Regions from separate parts of the Homo sapiens genome. Here region 1 is linked to region 2. Evidence: promoter capture Hi-C in 16 types of primary human blood cells and fetal thymus (Javierre and others, 2016). All regions are on one chromosome and are shown on one strand. Each heading gives the region's core, a stretch centred on a gene start or on the middle of the fragment in contact. The rest is flanking DNA. Distances are from core to core; before and after follow the strand shown.

Region 1 (6,863 bases), core at 3,702-6,201, 720 kb after region 2:
CCACAGCACTCCAGCCTGGGGTGACACAGTGACACTCCATCTCAAAAAAAAAAAAAAAAAAAAAAATAATTATATATATATATGTAATCCAATTAGAAAAGACATCAACAGATATTTCAGAGAGAGAATATATATTAATAGATGAAAAATAAGCACATGAAAAGATGTTCAACATCACAAGCCATTAGAGAAATGCAAATTAAAATGACAATGAGATACCACTACATACCTATCAGAATGGCTATTAATAAAATTAAAGGCCAGGTGCAGTGGCTCACTCCTGTAATCCCAGCACTTTGGGAGGCTGAAGCAGGTAGACTGCTTGAGGTCAGGAGTTCGAGACAAGCCTGACCAACATGGTGAAACCCCAGGCTCCCAAAGTGCTGGGATTACAGAAGTGAGCCACCGCACCCAGCTAGATTGCTAATATTTTTAATATTGTGTTTTGGAAGTTCTTTTTGCATTCTAGATACAAAATACAAATTTGTAAAAATACAAAAATTAGCCCAGCGTTACTGACGGGGCCTGTAATCCCAGCTATTTGGGAGGCCAAGGCACGAGAATCGCTTGAACCCGGGAGGCAGAGGTTGCAGTGAGCTGGAATCACACCACTGCACTCCAGCCTGGGCGACAAAGTGAGACTCTGTCTTAAAATAAATAAATAAATTAATTAAATTAAATTAAAAAGTAGCAACACTAAATGCTGATGAGGATGAACTGGATCACTCATACATTGCTGGTGGGAACTTAATATAAGATACTCTAGAAAACACTTTGGCAGTTTCTTTTAAAATCAAACATGTACTTACTATAGAACTTAGCAATTGTACTCTTGGGGTTTCATCCCAGAGAAGTGAAAATTATGTTCATGAGAAAACCTACACACATATTTCCATAGCTCCATTCATAACAGCCAAATATTGGAAACAACTCAAATGTCCTTCAACCAATAAATGGTTAAACTGGGGTACATCCATACCATGCAATACTATTCTGCAATAAAAAGGAACAAACTACTGATACATAGTAACTTGGACTGATCTTGAGGGAATTATACTTAGTGAAAAAAGCCAATCTCAAAAGGTTACATACTGGATGATTCCACTTATACAACATTCTTGGAATATCAAAATTACAAAATGGAGAACAGACTAGTGGTTGCCAGTGGTTACGAATGGCTAGGGAAAGGGAGTATATAACTATAAAACAGTTCTGTATCTTGATTGTGGTGGTGGTTACATGAAGCTACCTTGTAATAAAACTGCAAACAACTATTTATACACATACACACAGACAAGTGCTTGTAAACTCAGGAAATCCAAGTAAACTGTGGATTGTTCCAATGTCTATTTCCTCGTTTTTGATATTGTACTATAGTTATGCAAGTTGTTACCATCGGAGGAGGTTAAAGGGCACACAGGACTTCCCTATACCTGTGGACCTGTAATTATTTCAAAATAAAAATTAAGAGGAGATAGAAGGTAAGTCATCATGGTAATGCCAATTATTTGATGACTAATTATAAACACAAACTTGGATCTGATGGTAAAAAGATGGCAGCCTCTATGGAAGAAGAATAAGAAATGAAATGGTATGCTGTGCCTACTCTGTGTGAGTAAGTACCAGAAGAGATATGAATGTTAGACAGCATTCAAAATATTTTCAGTGTGAAAATATTTCAAAATTTTCCAGAATAAGGAAATGATTAATGCATTATTGTAAGCTGATCAATTCAAAATATAACAAAATACTGCATGAAATTAAGACCTCTGGAAAGACATTAACATGTGAGCAATCTTTTTGGTTCTATTAATAAATTTAGAAAATTCTGTTTTTTCTTTTTGGTTCTGTTAATAAATTCAGAGACACCAATCTTTTAGGAACCACATGAATCCCAGAGGTCTATAAATTAACAAAAGACAGCTCAATGAAGACAGTGTACCCACAGAGAAAAAAGCCATGCAGGAGTAGTGGTACCATCCAAAGTACCTAGAAGAAATTGTGAGAAATATATAAACTAGTATACTAGTCAAAATTTTTATTTTACAAGATATGTGTTTATGTCCCGAAAGTCTGGTTATAATGCCTACTTACTGTGTCAGTGAAAATTTCCATGTGCCAAAAAAAAAAAAATGTAATTTGTTACAATATCTATAATACTTAACTTTTCTTCTTTTGCCTGTTCTTGTTTTCCTTTGGTATCTGCCGATGTTTTCTGGAGAGAGCCTCTTGCTGCTCTGCAAGGTCGATTTTCTAAATTGCTAGAGCTTACACCTGGAGCAAGTTCAAACATCCACTGAGCTCGGAACATCTGGAGTTGTGCCTATGGGGAGAACAGCATTTTAGGACTCATCAAGGAAGGGTAGCTCAACTCTGGAACAATGTATCAATATGTCCAACATCTATCTACTTCCACGTATATACTTATTACTCTAAGTCCAGAAATCACTGTCTTCTGAATTATTAAATATCCATTAAATACATCTTTTAAAATAATTTTCTGCTCAAAACTTAAAGAATCAAGAAAATTAGCATAAAATACATGTCAGTACACCAAAAGTCAAATTATATTGGAAAACCAAATTTTAATTAGAATTGAAAATATAAGCCATCACTTACAGACTGAAGTTATAAGCTTCCAATAATTTTTTAATGACTATATCATCTAGTAGACATTAAGAATGCTGCCAAAAATTCTGTAGGTAAGCCCAAAATCTATTAACATTCTGTATTTCAAAAAGAAAATGTTTTTTCAAATATTTGTTATTTCAAAAATGTAAAGGCCAGGCACAGAGGCTCATGCCTATAATCCCAGCACTTTGGGAGGCCGAGGCAGACGGATCACCTGAGGTCAGGAGTTCGAGAACAGCCCGGCCAACATGGTGAAACCCTGTCTCTACTAAAAATACAAACAAATTAGCCAGGTGTGGTGGCGGGCACCTGTAATCCCAGCTACTTGGGAGGCTGAGCCATGAGAATTGCTTGAACTCGGGTGGCAGAGGTTGGCAGTCAGCAGAGATCGTGCTACTGCACTCCAGCCTGGGCAATGGAGCGAGACTCCATCTCAAAAAAAAAAAAAATTAAAAGCACATAAAAAGTGAACCCTATAAGGTAGACTCTGGTGTGTTGCCCAGATTCCCTTTCAGAAATAAAGAACTTGTTACCCAAACTGCTGAGAGTTCTATCTGAAAACACTTGAGTTGTCAGCCCTTTTGGGTATTGCCTCAGCAAAATCACACTGTCCTCTCAATCCCCACCCAATGACTGATCAACGGCTAATAAAGTCTTGGCTCTTTGCAACTCAGGTCATCTCTGAAAGGGTATTTCATCTTCAGAACTCCCTCGAGGATGGCTAAGCAGTCCATTAAGACTGCATTGCAGCTGGTCTTCTCCCTGCCCATTTGTTTCCCTCTCTCCCTTCCATAGGTGTTGATCCCAAGAATACTCCTTAATAAACTTCCTGCACAGCAATCTTCACCTAGTCTGCTTCCTGGGGAACCCAAACTGGGTTACACGTTCTGCCCAAAGGCAGCCATTGCTAACAGGGATGCATATGTTATTCCTGGCTTCCTTTTTTTTTTTTAAAAAAAGACGTATCTAGAATGTTTTAAATTAATTTTTCTCTATATTCTGTACACTGCTTTGTTGCTACGCTTTTAACCTGTTACACATAGATCTCTGACCTGCAGAATCTTTAGCAGCATTCAATGTCTACTAGATGAGCTGTTCCAAATAATTATTATTAACCTTACAAGTGCAGTGAGACACACTTAACTAGTTACAGCAACTTTTTTTCTCTTTTAATGTATAAAGATTTACTTCATCCTTTTAAATGGCTGTAGTGTTTTCACTGTATGGATGCATCATTACTTAATAACAGGTAATGAATATTTAAGTTGTATGATGTTTTTCCAGATAAACAATGCTATACTAAACATCTTTATAGTTGCATATTTACTTTCCCCACTATTTCCTTAAAATTAATTTCCTGGAAGTAGAATTGCTGTATCAAGGGAATGCATGTTTTTCATTTTGATCCATATCACCAGTCTGCCCTCCAGAAAGCTGTACCAATTTACATTTTCATGTACACTGCATGAGTGTTCTCACAGCTTGGACAGCGATGCACATTATTCACCAATCTGATTAAATTATTAATGAGGCTAATTATCTCTTCAAATATTTAATGGCCATTTGTATTATTTTGCCATTAACAGTCCACTCATATCTTTTTATCCTCTGTTCTTCCAAATATATGAGTGCTCTATGTAATGAGATGAATCCTCTGCCCATATATAATAAACAGTTTTTCCAGCTGGCTATTTCTCTTAACTTTATTTATGATGCCTTTTCTTATACACAGGTTTTAAACTTTTAGGTGGTCAAACCCATCAATCTTTTTAAGATTATGGGTTTTGAGTCATGCGTAAGCCTTAGTTTGAATACTTTAAACCCATGTTAAACTACAAGCAACCATTATTGATATTTCTTTTCACAAAGAAAGCCATAACATAGTTTTAAGTATTCTATAAACCAGTATGGAAACAGTTAAATTCCATGCAAACAGTAATAACCTACAAATACCCATGATTATGATCAATTTCTGCATATGTATGGGAACAATGGAATAAAAATCAAAGACACAATTGAAGAAACATGCCTGCAGATCTGTTTCAGCAGGACTTTCATTTTCTTCATCATCATCTGCTCTGACAGTATCAGAATGACAATCTTCCTCAGCTTCTGCCTGAGGGGGGAAAACCCAAATAATGTCAGGCATATAAACACACCAGTTGCCCTCTGCAATCTACATTTCTCATTCAGCCACTTTCTATTTAGTACCATACTGTCAACACTTTGTGGAACCCACTTTGAGTAGCAAGGCTGTAGGGGGCACTTGAGACCTTACTATTAATTTCCAAAGGAAAATGAGTCTGAAAAGCATATTCTCTACTCCAACCCACAGTACTCACGTTATTGTGAATCCTAACATTTCCCCCCCGCCAAATTTAACATCAGTTGCATCCATCCAAAAATCAATTTAATTACAGTTGTCCCTCAGTATCCACAGGTGATTAGTTCCAGGAGCCCCCAGGACACCAAAATCCCTGGGTTTTCCAGTCCCTCATATGGCATATTTGCATATAACCTATGCACATCTTCTCATATACTTTAAGTCATCTCTAGGTTACTTATAATGTAAATGCCATGTAAATAGTTCTTGTAGTATATTTTTCCTAATTTGTATTATTTTTTATTGTTGTATTGCTTTTTTTCCCCCAAATATTTTTGATCCACAGTTGAATCCCAGGATGCAGAACCTGCAGGTACAGAGGGCCAACTGTGTAATATAAAGTAACAATTCAAGTCTATTACTATTCATAAATGATTTATGATTAATCTAATTAGGTAAATGAAGCCAAATTCTTCATTAATATACATAACTACTGATAATCTATAATAAAAATTATTTTCTCTTTTTCTGGCCAGGTGCGGTGGCTCACACCTGTAATCCCCACACTTTGTGAGGCTGAGGCAGGAGCATCACTTGAGGTCAGGAGTTCAAGACCAGCCTAGCCAACATAGTGAAACCCCATCTCTACTAAAAATACAAAAAATCAGCCAGGCGTGGTGGTACACGCCTGTGGTCCCAGCTAATTGGGAGGCTGAGGTGGGAGGGTTGCTTGAGCCTGAGAGATGGAGGTTGCAGTGAGCCGAGACTGCACCATTGCACTCCAGCCTGGATGACAGAGACCCCATCATAAAAAAAAAAAAAAAAAAAAAAAGGAAAAAAGAAAAGAAAAATATTATTCTTCTTAGAAAAAAATGAAATAAAATTAGAACATCTTTGGTATTTTTTTAGTTCTACAAGACTTTAAAACTTTTTATGAGAAAAACACTTAAAGAGAATTAATCCCTAAGTACTCATGACCCAACTTCAATAATTATCAATGTAATTCCTTAGATCAAATATCAAGTCACAGTATTCATATTTCTCAAGATGTCATATGTAAAATACATATATTTCACAGTTTGTGAAATCAAGATTCAAATAAAGTCCACATTGTAATTGCTTGATATGTCTCAAGTCTTTTGTAATCCTCACTCTTTTTTCTTGTAATTTATTTGGGATGAAACTGGGTCGTTTTTCTGTAGAAGCTAGATTTTGCTGAGGTGTCAATAAATATGTTCCTTTGACCTCTTACTCTTATTTCCTATAAATTGTGGCAGGATCTTGAAAGGCTAGATTAGATTCTGCTATTTCTTTTTTCTTTTGCAAGACTGCCTCATAGGTCATGTTGTATTTTCCATCAGGAGGAGAAATGTTCTAGAATGCAGTTGACAAGGTGCTGTGACAGATGTTCCAAACATAATTGAGTCTAAGGCAAAAAGCCCAAATAATTTTAGTGTCCATAAACTTCTACAAGTCCCAAAACAGAAAATACTCTAATGTTTCATGTTAATGAAATACAACATTGCTTCTTTATAGTTATCTTCTTCACAGGTAAGTTTAATGATACCAATCAGATATAACTTGATACTTGAATTTTTTTTGATACTGTAGAATAAACAAATCCACTGGGTTCTAGGTTAAAATGTATTGTTAGGTGGCTAAAAATAACAACTTTGTTTCAGAAAATAGTAACATTTAGTTGTCCTATGGAGTTCAGCAAATAGTTATTGCTTTCTTGGGACAGAGTCTCCTTATGCAGCCCAGGATGGCCTCAAACTCCTGAGCTCCAAAGATCCTTCTGCTCCACCTCTTGAGTAGCTGAGACTACAGGCTTGTGCAGCCATACCTGGCTGTAGCAGATAGTTTTTGCTTCATGGATCACTTAAGAGAATACAGTCCAGGCAGGGTG
Region 2 (7,796 bases), core at 3,261-5,760:
GTCAACAATAGCTTCACCAGATTGGTGTACAAAAGTCTGACCATAGGAAGGGGAATTATGACGGCTAAGAAACAGGGCCCATCTACCCATGTTAGGACTCACTGACACATCTTTGTGCCCACTATGTACTAAATACTGTCCTAGGTCCAGCCGTGAAGACCTCTGCACTCATGGAGGTTATGTTTTAGTTAGGGAGAGAGACAAAGAACAAGAAAGCAAATATATGGTCTGGAGTTAGGTAATGATATATGCTCTAAAGGACAGGAAAAAATAAAGCAGAATATGAGAAAGAATGATGTAGGGGGCAGGCATTTGAGATAATGCCATCTGGCAATCAACAAAAATCAACTGAACTCTTAAGAGGAGGTGGCAAGGTGAAATTCAAATTTTTAAAGCTATGAAGCCTTTAGTATATTCATTTAAAATATGTGCTGCCTACTACTACATGAAGCGCTATATTGGTGCTGGAGATTACAGGAAAACACACGCATTTGAAGGTATCTGAGAACTGGTGCACACTGAGGAGAAAACCAATGGCATGTGAAAGGCTGAGGAAGTACAGAGGGGAAGCCAAGGTTCCTGCAGGGCAAGTAGGACAAAACAGTGTCACCCTATGAATGACCTTTTCTTCTGAAGTTGCTTCCAACTTGAATATTCTGACTATATTAGAAAAGGATAGATGCTGGAGCAGTGATATGCTTAAGGGAAAAGAAAGAAGCAGAGGGAGGAAGATTTTTATAAGATTCGGCAACATTCATTCAACAGATAAATAACTGTTTATTGAGCAAGACCTATTGGGTGTCACAAGGATGAGATTCTGTGCTGAACAAAGGTAAGGCCGGGCATGGTGGCTCACGCCTGTAATCCCAGCACTTTGGGAGGCTAAGGCGGGTGGGTCATGAGGTCAGGAGATCGAGACCATCCTGGCTAACATGGTGAAACCCTGTCTCTACTAAAAATACTAAAAAATTAGCTGGGTGTGGTGGTGGGCACCTGTAGTCCCAGCTACTCGAGAGGCTGAGGCAGGAGAATGGTGTGAACCCAGAAGGAGGAGCTTGCAGTGAGTGGAGATCGTGCCACTGCACTCCAGCCTAGGCAACAAGAGTGAGACTCCGTCTCAAAAAATAAATAAATAAAAAATAAACAAAGGTAAGCAAAAACACACAGACATCTCAAGAAGGTTACAGTGAGACTGCCTTTGTTAGCACAGAGCCAAAAAGGATCAAACTGCGGGTATGGGGGAGAAGTAGGTGGATGCAAAAAGGATGGTGAGGCTATCACCCAACTGCAACCAAACTGAAGATGAGGGATCTGATGCAAAAGGTTAAAAGATTAGGGAAGTAACCATCAAGTCCATAGCTTAGGAGTAGTTTAACCGTGGTGTCCTTTCCATCCCACACTAACTACATCTGGATTAAAATCATCTGCTTCCTCCCAAAGATGTGAATCATGCCTCCTTTAATCTCTATATTCCCAATAACTTGTAAATAATGGAGTCTCAATAAATGCTTGGCTAAGGCTAAGTTATAATGACATGAGTAAAACAGGAGAGACTAAATAAAGATTTGATGGGTGTGAGAAGCAGGATAGAAGATTCCTGCTAGGTGTCCAAAGCAATTGTATTTGGCTGACATCTGAATGAACAAGACCCACCAGCAACTGCATCTAACTCACTGGACAGCCCTGAGAAAGTCACCTCAATTCTGAATCTGAATTTGTAAAAGGAAGATATTGGCGCAAACCAGAAGTTGCAGGCCTTTCAGTGGAAAGAAGGTGGCTGTTATTACACTGAAACCTGGAGAGTGCATCTTTGCTGCCCTGGTAAGGGGTACCGGCTTCCCCTTAAGCTGTGCTTCCAAACAAATTATAGAGAGGAGAACATACAGCTGGTATGGCCACCAAAATAAGGACCTTTGAGGCTTGTGAACAAAACAGATGCGCTTGTGTGTGGCAGGTAAGGAGACAGGGGTTTGGAGCAGGAGCAGCAGAGACCAGTGGTAATAAGTTATACAGATCTCAGAGGTGAGACAACAGATAGCCCAAGGAAAGAATGGAAGGGATGGAACAGATATCTATGTTTGCAAGGTGGTTCTCATGTCTGGCATGTACACACCCAGGCACCAAGACACACAATAAGTCAGGGAGAAGTAGATTTTACACAACCTAAAAACTTTAATACTAATTTAACAGCTGTTAGAGCAATAATAATCCATTAGCAAGATCACCTGTAACCTTTGAAAAGCTTGTTTATTTACCATATTTACAGAGTGCCATCAGACTATATTTTGAGATTCTGACAAGTTTCCATTTAGGATCACAGAAAGACCTGACATTTCGGCTTGGCATGGGAAATTATGTAATTTCCCATGCCAAGCTGAATTCCCCAACATTACAGGAAAACCCACAAACCCTGCAGAAGGGAGTGAAAAGCCAATCCAGTCAAAGGAAATCTTCCAGTTCTACAAAAGAAAACAAAAAAACAAATACCACAAAGAGCAATGAATCATTTCTAGTGAATAACTTTTCACTCCATCTTCAATAATGTCATCCTGAAGCCCCTGAAAACTATTAAATTACATATTCTATATTCCTGGTGATATCACTGCCTAAAATTACACAACTTAAAGCAGTGAGGGAGCTGACGACTGGTAAGAAATCTTCAAGGACGTAAAAGGCCAGAAAAAAATCATGTGTTTGAAAATGCCTGCGAAATAATAAACGCCTGAGGGAACTTGATGGCTTTGCTGCTTCTAAGCTAAATAAAGCCTGGGGGGCTTTGCAAAGGTCCTAGTGAGGATAATCTCCATGATTACACAGAGCAAACATCCAATCAATTCCACATGAACCCAGGAAAGTTAATCCAAGAAGAACACCACCACTTAAAATATTGAGAAAAACACACAGTTCTTATTGTTTAAATGCTCCATCAGCGCTGGAGAACGTATCAGGTCATTCTAACAAGTCAGAACACTTGACTAGTGTTTCTGTGACAATGATTTGGCTTGTGTTAACTAAAGGGCAACAAGAAGTTTGCGTTCCAAAGCTCAGGCCTAAAACAGGTCCAATCCCCGACTGCCAGCAGTCTCCCTACTTCCTGCACACCTTTGGATTATTGCACACCGACTTCCTGCACACACCTGGGTTTGAGACACCTTCCCCGAGGGGTTACTCTAGCTAAGTTCCCGAGGCAAGCTTGAAAGAAGTTCGCTGTACCCCTACTCTCGGTCAAAGCACCATCAGCACATGTCGCTTGACAAGTTCGGCGGCAATGGAGTGATCAATTTACATAAACAACTCTGAAGAGATAACGCATCACTGCAAGGAGAGAAAGTCAGCAGGACGACTGTGCCCGCTCCGGGAAAGGCGGCTGCAAGGCTGGCCCGCGGGCAGAGCCTCCGCTGACGTTCACCGCAGCTCCCACCACGCAACAGGTCCACGTAGGCAAGGCCCGGGCGGCCGGCATCTGGGCACCTGCCCCTAGCGCTCCAGGCCCAGCTCTCCCCTGCGCCCATCTCGCGTCCACCCCCGCAGCCACCGCAGGCCAGCCGGCCAAGCCCACCCGCGATAAAGCACGGAGCACATTCCTCATTCCTCCCAAGATGCCGAGATAGTGCGGCCCGCTTGAGCGCTGCCCAGGTCACAAGGTCCTCCGGGACATGCCTTGACTAAAGGAGAGGCGCGCCCGGCCCTTGGTGGGGGAACGACCCCGGGGAGTGGAGGGGGGGAGGATGCAGTGCTCTGTAGCTTCCAGATGGAAACAGCCCGAATCACCCGGCTTCTCACCTGACCGGGCACAAGTGCCAGGTGTCAGTACCTAGCATGGATCTAAGTTACTTAACAGTCCAGAACGCTTCTCCAATAGCACGAGCCCCAGTGACTACGCGCAAAATATCCGGTCACTTTGAATAAAATGAAAAGGAACTTTTACTGGGAAAGGATGGAAGTAAAGAGACAGGGGGAGAAAGAAGCAGGTGAATGCATAAAAGAGGGAAGGTTCCTTCACGCCGGACCCGGAGATGGAAGAGGGGACGAGAGAGGATGGGAGCGGAAGGGACAGCAGACGAGCGGGCAGAGCGCTCAGGTGAGGCCGGACCCTTACCTCGGGCAGCTCGCGGAGCTGGTTGGCGTCCAGCAGCAGCTCCTCCAGGCTCCGGGCATAGCGGTAGATCTCCTCGGGGACGTAGACCAGCGAGCAGTGGCGCTTGTCGATGCTCTCCACATGACGGTTGCACCGCCACAGGGGGATGCAGTGGAACATCGCCGCCCCCGCCGCCGCCTAGCCGGGTCCCGAGCGGCGGAGACCCGGGCTCCGAGCCCGCTCTGGCCGGCGGCTCCGCTCAGTCCGCTGCCCTCTCCGCGCTCGTTGTTGGCTCTTGGGTTAGCTCGCTTCTCGCGCCGGGCTTCGCGGTCGGAAGTGCTTCAAGGAACCTGGAGCGGGAGCCCCTGCCCCGTCCCTGTACCCCCGCCCGCCAGCCGGTGCCTCCACTCCCACCCGCCAGTCGCCGTCGCCGCCCCCGCCGCCGCGCGGAGCTTCCTACTCGCAGCCGCCGCGCGGACTGAGCATGCGCGCCAGTGGGTGCGCGCCGAGGGCGTTTCCCGGCCCGAGGGATGCTCCGCTCCGGGTTTTCCCGGCGACCTGCATCCAGAGAGGGTCGACTGACCTGCGGGCCGGCTGCTGGCGGTCTGCTTACTCCGGCAAAGACGGGGGCGCATCGGGCCGTTTGAGGAAGGCAGACTGTGAAAGGACTTGGGACAAAGATGAGGCGGAGTAGAGGCGGCCTGAGCAGAGCAGAACAACTTTGATATTTAGTTTTATTTAACTCGCACTCCTCTCCTTGCTCCCCTTCCCCAAAACAACTTTCTCTTCCGGGGTCACACAGGACCGCCCCAAAGCGTACCTTGCGCGCCGGGGGCGCCAGGCGCTACTGGATTCGGTGTAGTTTTGAGGTGTTTGCACCACCCTCGCTGCTGCTTTCGTGGCTGCCCGTGTGCCCGCTGCTCACGGCTGCCCCAGAAGTGTGAGCTGGCCGCGCCCGGCCCTCTGGTCCTCGGGCACCGCCTGCAGGCTTTGTAACTTGGGAGCACATCTCTGGTGATCATGGTTTATGCAGTGAGTGATAGTAAATCCTCCTCCCTGTACCAGCAAAGGCATAGGAGTCTGAGAGTCTGCGAGATTCTCATAGATGTGGTTGCACCTGGCAAGGAGCCCAGCTGCAGAAATAAGCAGGCAAACGCGAGTTTCTGAGCCAGTTCCAGCCCGGCCCAGATGTTGGCCCCTGACAACTAGCTGTGGCTGGTGCGGAGGGAGGAGCGAGGGAAGAGGGGCAGATCGAGGCTGCCAGGTGAGCATCCTCCATACAGCTCCTGCTTTTCTGCTACAACCCCAGTCCCGTCCAGCCCGGATGACCGGGGAGGCTCACTATTGGGTTATAACAACCATTCCCTCGCCCCGACTCATTCCTGCGGACCACGGCCGGAATCCTGAACTGCCCCTCTTTGCCTGTAACTGTTTGCAACACAGTCCCCATCTCCGAATAACCAAATTTTCTCCTTTAATGAAGGGTTGCTAAAGTCAAGGTCAATCACAATGATGAATCATTTCCTTGGGGGCTTCTCTGATTCCCCACCCGGCCGCCCCTTCGTTCCACACTTTCCCTTTCAAGCATACTCAAACTCCAGGTTTCCACCTGCGGCCGCTGCCACGCTGGCTCTCCCACACTCACTCCCGCCCTCCAGCTGCTATAGCTAAAATCTGGAGCCACGGAGTTCACTTTTCTATAGAAGACAAAGCTGAGCATGCTCAGTGGCCAAGGCAAAGTTTGGTCGGAAACTAGTTTTTGCATTAGACTCTCCATGGGCTCCATAGACTCTCCTGTACCTTACGACTAGGCACAGGAGCGTTTCCCCGGTGAAATGGAGAAGAGGACACTTGGTCTTTTCAACTTTACTAGGAGGGCTCCTTTCTTCCCAGTCCGTAAGGAGGGGTCTGACTTTCATTTCCACCCCAGCATTATCACCTTAACTCTCATTCCAGTCAATCCCGAAACTCCGTTGCCCTACCCACTTCACCCTTCTTTTGTTTGTCCTGATTTGATTCCTGCGTTCTCACAGAGGGCTACCTGGACTTTGAACCTCCACCCCCCTTTCTACATTCTTGCATTCCAGAAACATATGAAGCTCATTTCTGCCACCCTTCCTAGAAAACTGGTTCCTGACAGAGACATGTGGAAAGGTAAGTAAGTCCCTGTCTTCAAGTTTTCCAACTGCTTTTTAAAAAAAAAATTAAAGAAGGCTAGTTCCCTCCATTTAAAATAATGTGATTTCCAGAGGTTATCACACTAGATTATTTTAACGAACACCAAATGTATTTTAAAGACGTGTCCAGTCTTTTAAAAATTCAGACCTCAATAAGCATTCCTTGTGTGCCTCTCCATGATGCTTCAGCTTCTCTGTGTTATTATTTTTGTATCACCTTAATCCGAAAGAGATTATGACCTCTTAAACAACAGATACTGTCTCACTTGCTTTGTAGATCTGGGAAGCTGCCACAGTGCCATATGCACAGTCAATGATCAACAGTTTTTGTTGATTTAATTCTATGGGTAGTCACTGGGAGAATTCTTGACTTTCCTTGTTTCCAATAATCTGCCAAGAATTTGAAACAGCGTAGTAAGAGAGAAAAAATGAAACAACACCTTGTCAACTACAGAATAGGGAAGCAATTAACTTTTTACTCACCTGAAGAATTTTAGGGTTTCCCGCCTGATAAAACATCTAGTTTCTTCCGCCACATACAAATGAGTTTGACTCAATTTAAACAAAGTTTAAAAAGACCACCTAAATCACTTTATTCTTAGAATAATGTAATTCTTTTATTCATTTGTACTGTGAACCATGTTTTCACAGCCTTTGAGCTAAAGAGATCTGTGTTTGAACTCTTGTTATGCCACTAGCTTCGTAGAAATTGACAGTTTACTTAACTTGTATAAGCCTCAGTTTTATCATATCTCAAATGAGGATGATTCATGGGATTGTTATCTGGATTAAATGAAATGACATATGTAAAATGCTTAGTACAGTATCAGACACACATTACTTTAATCAATAAATATTAATTATGCACTTTATTAGCCAGCCTCCAGGAAGTTAGGGACAACATCCACCATCTCCTGGTTGGTCTATGTAACCAACTTTTTCTTTCTCGAATCACTCACTTTGGGGAAGCCAGCTGCCATGTTGAGCAAATCTAGAGCTCCACATGCCAAAGAATTGCAGACTGCTGACAACAACTAGCAAGGGACTGACGATTCTTGGCAGTAGTCATGTGAGTGAGCCATCTTGGAAGCCAGTTCTCCAGCCCTTGTCAAGCCTTCAAGTGACTGCAGCACCAGCTGATAGCTTGACTAAAACCTCATGATAGCCTCAGACTCAGGACCACTCAGCTAAGCTGCTCCCCACTCTTGCCCCTCAGAAATTATGTGAGACAGTAAATGTTTGTTGCTTTAAGCTGCTAAGATTTGGAGTAATTTATTACACAGCAACAAATAACTAATAAAGGTACATACTATGCACCAGGCATTGTGCTAGATACTAGAAATGTAAGAAAAACAAGATAGGTCTTAGCCTCATGAAGCTTACTCTCTGAAGTTAGGAGAATGATAAATACTTAGTGGTCTGTTGTTGCTTTATCATTAATTTTTTGAGCATGATATCATTAATTTTTTTAAGTGAAAATCCAAAGTGTTAGCGTGTAAGATAGGGATTCTTGTAAATGGGGATTCAGAGGTTTGGGCATG

Evidence for each region. Contacts are between HindIII fragments. The CHiCAGO score rates a contact against its expected background, and 5 or more counts as called.
Region 1: a fragment that was not itself captured here is called in contact with the fragment with the promoter of LRRC1 in region 2 in 5 of 17 cell types (total B cells, non-activated CD4 T cells, activated CD4 T cells and 2 more); the score reaches 7.4 in total B cells.

Annotation. Positions count from the first base shown.
Region 1 is chr6:53,068,941-53,075,803 of GRCh38, reverse strand. FBXO9 (F-box protein 9) reads right to left here. Exons shown (of 13, transcript NM_033480.3): 2 at 4,661-4,747; 3 at 2,165-2,323. Among named protein-coding and RNA genes, the nearest start is that of FBXO9, 7.0 kb to the right of the region's middle. The HindIII fragment of the contact is 4,628 bases long and covers 2,638-6,863 here.
Region 2 is chr6:53,791,719-53,799,514 of GRCh38, reverse strand. It overlaps LRRC1 (leucine rich repeat containing 1), which reads right to left and starts at 4,510. Exons shown (of 14, transcript NM_018214.5): 1 at 4,100-4,510. The coding sequence starts at 4,258. LOC124901333 (a long non-coding RNA gene) reads left to right here and starts at 5,840. Exons shown (of 5, transcript XR_007059619.1): 1 at 5,840-5,974; 2 at 6,166-6,232. RefSeq lists an enhancer at 3,726-4,438 and silencers at 4,405-4,644, 5,690-5,819. The HindIII fragment of the contact is 4,441 bases long and covers 3,195-7,635 here.